Linked DNA regions of Homo sapiens: region 1 is linked to region 2. The links are contacts of gene promoters, found by promoter capture Hi-C in human tissues and cell types (Jung and others, 2019). All regions are on one chromosome and are shown on one strand. Each heading gives the region's core, a stretch centred on a gene start or on the middle of the fragment in contact. The rest is flanking DNA. Distances are from core to core; before and after follow the strand shown.

What was found. The method cuts DNA at HindIII sites, captures the fragments that hold promoters and counts their contacts. A contact is called where the count stands out against the background at its distance.
Region 1: a contact is called between the fragment with the promoter of SERTAD3 here and the fragment with the promoter of ZFP36 in region 2, in 1 of the 25 tissues and cell types used here (spleen).

Annotation. Positions count from the first base shown.
Region 1 is chr19:40,442,928-40,445,647 of GRCh38, reverse strand. SERTAD3 (SERTA domain containing 3) reads left to right here and starts at 1,313. Exons shown (of 2, transcript NM_203344.3): 1 at 1,313-1,433. It overlaps SERTAD3-AS1 (SERTAD3 antisense RNA 1), which reads right to left and starts at 1,131. Exons shown (of 2, transcript NR_187496.1): 1 at 1,020-1,131; 2 at 385-758. RefSeq lists silencers at 782-1,001, 1,062-1,381, 1,562-1,621, 2,087-2,466. The HindIII fragment of the contact is 14,341 bases long and covers 1-2,720 here.
Region 2 is chr19:39,405,587-39,408,286 of GRCh38, reverse strand. It overlaps ZFP36 (ZFP36 ring finger protein), which reads right to left and starts at 1,440. Exons shown (of 2, transcript NM_003407.5): 1 at 1,359-1,440; 2 at 1-544. The coding sequence starts at 1,382. RefSeq lists enhancers at 1-388, 389-1,026, 1,077-1,276 and a silencer at 1,397-1,846. The HindIII fragment of the contact is 20,061 bases long and covers 1-2,700 here.

The sequences.
Region 1 (2,720 bases), core at 64-2,563, 1.0 Mb before region 2:
AAGTTTAAATATCCAGAGGCGAGAAGATTGCTTGAGGCCAGGAGTTCAAAACCAACCTGGGCAACACAAGAAAACCCCCCTCCCCCCTCCCCCATCTCTCTGTCACCCAGGCTGGAGTGCAGTGGCACGATCTCGCCTTCACTGCAACCTCAACCTCCCAGGTTCAAGCGATTCTCCTGCCTCAGCCTCCCAAGTGGCTGAGATTACAAGCGTGCGCCACCACGCCCAGCTAATTTTTGTATTTTTAGTAGAGACGGGGTTTCACCATTGTTGGCCAGGCTGGTCTCAAACTCCTGACCTCAAGTGATCTGCCCGCCTCCGCCTCCCAAAGTGCTGGGATTACAGGCGTGCGCCACTGCGCCCGGCAAAAAATAATATTAATAATAAAGATCCAGAGGCCTTTTATTGTCATGTTTGCGAACTTATTATGTACCTGGCATTGTTGTAGACACTGGGGTAAAGCAGGGAAGAAAACAAACAGAGAAAATCCTTTCGTTTTCCTGATGGGGTGAATGGGAGCTTGAAGCCATTTTAGAAAAACTGGAAGTGACTCAATGGGGCAGGATCGGAGAGAACCAGGAGAACGCATCAAGCAAGGTCGTGAGGGGCTTTGTGGCAAAAGGAAGGAGTTTGAAGTTTGTATTCGGGGTGGGTAGGAAGCCATGAACAGTAGCAGAGGAGTCATCTTGATGGAGCGGGGAAGGAAAGAGGGTGTCAGAAGACCCAGGTGGGACCACCAGAGGACGTGCTGAGAAAACCTGAGGATTAAGAAGGGGCCGCGCGGTAACGTATAGGGGGCGGGAGGGGCAGCAAGGGGGCGAGGCTACGATCGCCTAGGCAACGCGGGCCGCGCCACTCTATTGGCTGGTCTTCCGCTACGTCATCCCCCGCGCCCCAGCGTCCTCCCTCGGAACCCCGGGGGCGCGGCCTCCTCCGGTTGCTCGGCCCCGCCCGCCTGCACAGCGACTTGGGGAGGGGCATGCCAGCCCCTCTGGCTCCACGGTGGAGTCCAGGCCTACCATAAAGGAACCGCAGGGAGCAATGGTGACGATCTTGGAGCGAGGACTGTAGCTGAGTGGAAGGAAGCGGTTCTGTTGGACCGGCCGCCCTCCACCCCGGAGTCGCTGCCCCGCCCCCTGCCAGTTGCACTTCTTTAAATGGCCCGGGGCGCTAGGGAGGGGTGGGCGGATCCGGCGTCTCGGGGCACGGGCGGATGGCTCCGCCCAGCCAATCGACGCCCCGCGGCGGGCGGGACTCCAGCCAATCGCGGCTCGCGGCTCGGCTCCGGGGCGGGGCTGGTGGGCCAGAGGCCAGACGGAGAGGCCCCGCCGAGGTGAGCGAGGCTCCAACCGGTCACTGGTGGGTCCTGGCACTGGCGGGTCGCAACGCTGTGGGCGTTCCAGGAGGTGGTCGTGGCGAACCTGGCAGCTGCGGTGAGGAGTGGTCGCCTGGCTTGGGAATTTACCTTAGGCTGGGGGAGAGAGAAGCGCGCCCCGGGGACTTGCGGAGGCGGGGTCTGGGTGGGACCGGGGGAGGGGGCCTCAGATTCAGGGTGATGATAGGGAGGGTCTGGGGACCTGAGACTGAGTTCAAGACCCAGGAGGGGAGGCGAGGTTGTTGGGGCAGTATTTTCAAGTGGAGGGAGTTTGAAGCTGGGACGTTGGGCTTTTGGAGAAGCGAGAGAACAGAGGGGAGGAACTTTTGAGACAGGGAACCTGGAGATTCGATTCCACTTGGGTCTTCCGGACGGGTTGAATTCGGGGCTTTATCGTGTTCTGGAAAAGGTGTGAGAGGTACGGAGCTGAGATTCTGAGTATTTGGAGAAGCGAGAGAACTAGGGTCAAGGATTCTTGGGACTCCAAGACGCACTGGCGGGGGAAGGAGGTTGCCGGGAAGAGTTCAATGTTCGGGTCTTGGAGCCGGACAGCGAGTTTGGAGGTGAAGTCCAGGGGCGTTTGAAAGTCAGGAGACTAGGAGAAGTGGGAGGAAGTATCAGAATTAGGATACGTAGTCTCCCGAACTAGATCGGAGCATTGTCGTCTTTGAGCGATGTGTTCGGATCTGGGTCTCTGGATCCAAGGGCAGTTTGGAAGGAGAATCGCGGACTTTCAAGGAACAGAGGGACCGGGAGAAAGCAAATTTAGAGCCGGAGTCTGGGGTGGGGGAGGGGTGTTCCGGGCCTGGAGCTCAGACTCGCGGCCCCGGAGGCAATGGAGGGCGGGGCTCGGCAGGCGCCGGCAGCTGGACGTCCAGGTTCCCTTCCCCCACCCGCCTGTGCCCCTGTGCGCATGCCCTGAGGGAGAGCGGGGTGAGGGGGGTGGCTCGTCCCCTGGACGGGCGGAGCCCTCTGGGGATTGTAGTGCGTGCTCGACGTCAATTCGTGTACCTGGCGGCTGTTGGCCCCCGTTTCCCAGAAGCCCCTGGGCCAAATTGGGGCGTTCCTGGATGCTCTGTAAGGACCCATGGGGGGGCGGGGCCTTACAGTGTCGCGGTCTGATTGAGTGGGACCTCCGAGGGGGCGGGGCTTGGTCTGAGCTGAGTTCTAGCAAGTTTTCCTATGGGGCGCGCTTTGGGGGAATCTGAAAGCGTGGGCAGAGGGAATGAGACAGGCCCCTTTCCTACTCTTGGGAGCGCTCCCAGTCGGTTAAGGAAGAGGACATAGAAATATCCCGACTGTTGAAGAAGAATCTCAACATAGGTTCCCCAACAGGGCTCCAGGA
Region 2 (2,700 bases), core at 191-2,690:
GGCCGGAGAAGCTGATGCTCTGGCGAAGCACAGGAGGGTGGCCCGGGGCCGCCAGGTCTTCGCTAGGGTTGTGGATGAAGTGGCAGCGAGAGCCGTAGGGGCAGCGGCCCTGGAGGTAGAACTTGTGACAGAGTTCCGTCTTGTATTTGGGGTGGCGATTGGCCTGGCGCAGCTCGCCCAGGCCATGGGCAAACTGGCACTTGGCCCCGTAGCGGCAGCGCCCACTCTCTGAGAAGGTCCGACATAGCTCAGTCTTGTAGCGCGAGGGGGTGGTGGAGGTTGCAGTGGGCGAAGTGGGTGAGGGTGACAGCTCAGGGCCCAGGCGGGGAGCCAGCGGTGCGAAGCCAGGGGGTGGGGGCACCCAGCCACAGCTGCGGCCCTCCACTAGGCTGGTGGAGCGGCCAGGCAGGCGGGAGGTGACCCCAGACGGGCTGGAGTCGGAGGGGCTCAGGCTCCAGGGTCCCGAGGAGCCCCAGCCTGGGCTGGACTCAGTCCCTCCATGGTCGGATGGCACGGGCACGTCAGGGCTCAGCGACAGGAGGCTCTGCGGAAATGGGTCGGTTAAGGCACCTGAAAATGCAGGGCGACGCCCCACCCCAGCTGCAGGGAACTAGAGCTTGCCAGGCCGGTTTGTGGGCTCCCCGCCTGAGCCCCACCCGCCCGCAGAAACCCCTGGGTTCCGGATGCCAGGAACCCAGAGTTGGAGGTTCTGAGTTTACCCACCACCGAGGCCTTATCCCGAGGGACCCAGGAATCCCGGCTTCCCCGGCTGGACCAAGAGGGGGACCCCGAAGTCAGGGCGCACCACTGTTTCCCAATTTTGGGTCTCTTGTCCTCCCCGGATATGACCCACGCGTCGGGATCTCCAGTTTCACAACTGGAGAAACCGGGCAAAGTTGACCTGGAAGTCCGGATTGCTTCGGTTTTAGGGTTCTCTGTCTCTACGGTCAGGGACTGGAGAGACAGAAGTCGGATCCCCCCACCCTGAGACTTCAGCCCCAGAGACGCCTCCGCGCAAAACCACGCCCTCAGCAACGACTAGGGGTGAGCCAGGTATGGGGGCCACTTCCGCCTCCAGGCAGCCTCGGTCTGAGAAAAGTTCTCCGACTTTCCACTTGCATGGGCCGCCCCACCCATGTTTGAGCGAAGAGCCGGGTGTCGCGGGTTCCATTTTCACCTCCAAATCACCAAGCTGGTCTGAGCGGGAGGCAGGGGCCCCAGGCTGGAGGGCGCGGCGCTAGGGAGCCCCAGTTGGAGAAGGGAGGCAAGCGTCCCGGGCTGGAGTTTGCGGCGCTAGAGAGGTGGGGACTCGGACTCAGGCATGCAGGTACCGGGGATGCCGTGCGGCGGGGACTCACCTCGTAGATGGCAGTCAGATCCATGGTGTAACGGTTGGCCATGAGGGGTGTCGGCCGAGAGTGGGAGCGCTGAAGTCAGGCTGAGGCTGGCACCGAGAGCCGGCTACTTATAGGAAACTGCAAGCACGGGGCGGGGCCGGGGCCGGGGCCGGGGGCGGGGCAGGAGGGGCGCTTCCCGGACGCGCGCCCCCGGCGCAGCCTGGCTGGCCCTGGACTGGTTCCCTTCCGCCCGGCCCTGGGCCAGGACGCGCCTGAGCTTGGCCGGTGGACAGCCGTGACCGAGCGGGGAATGCGTGGGGAAGGGGTGGGGGTGCGGATGGGGGGACGCCTGCCCAGTTTTCAAAGCTGGAGACTGAGGCTTGTAGAAGGAAACTGGGGCGGAGGTGGGGGCAGGGCCCCAGGGGCAATTGACAAGAGCAGAAGCCCGATGGGGGTGCGCGTGCGACACAGACGGATGGGGGCGGGGAGAGACGCAGAGGGGTACAGACAGGCAGACAGGCAGAGAGAAAAACATCGAGAGAGACACACACACCAAGAGACATACAGAGAGAGATAGACAGGGTGAGGAAGGGAGGGAAGACGGGGAGACAGAGACAGTCCCAGAGACAGATTCAGAGGGAGAAGAGGGTTGGGAGGATCACAAAAAGAAACAGAAAGGGGCTGAGCGCAGTGGCTCACACCTGTGATCCCAGCACTTTTTGTGTTTTTCTTTCCTTTTTCTTCTTCTTTTTTTTTTTTTTTGAAAGACGGGGTTTCCCTATGTTGCCCAGGCTAATCTCCAGCTCCGGGGCTCAAGCGATCCTCCCACCTCCGCCTCCCAAAGAGCTGGAATTACAGGTGTGAGCCACCAAGCCCGGCCAATCCCAGTACTTTCAGAGGATGAGGCAGGTGGATTACCTGAGATCAGGAGTTCAAGATCAGCCTGGGCAACAGTGAGATCCCATGTCTACAAAAAATACTATTTAAAAAAATTAAAAAGAAAAAGAAACTGGACAAAAAGGAGAAAGACTGTGAGAAATAAGCACTTACGGAAAGAAATCTGCAGAGCAAAGTGCCAAGAAAGAGCCAGCAGGCCTTGGAGGGGAATTCTCTGAGAACTGCCTGCCTTGTGTGGTCTCACTCCTAAACAGCCCAGACAGATAAGGAGACCTGGACTGCTCTCCCTCTCCCCACTTGCTGGGGTTGGGTGGGTGAGTGAGTGGGTTGGGTGGGGTCCAGGATACCTGGCAAGGCTGAAAAGGGGCCTCCTTTCCCAATTCACAGGGCGGCTCTAGCCCCCTCACCCTCGGGCGGATGATCTCTTCTAGGCTGAGTTAAGGAGAACTCACCTGGGCTGAGTTCT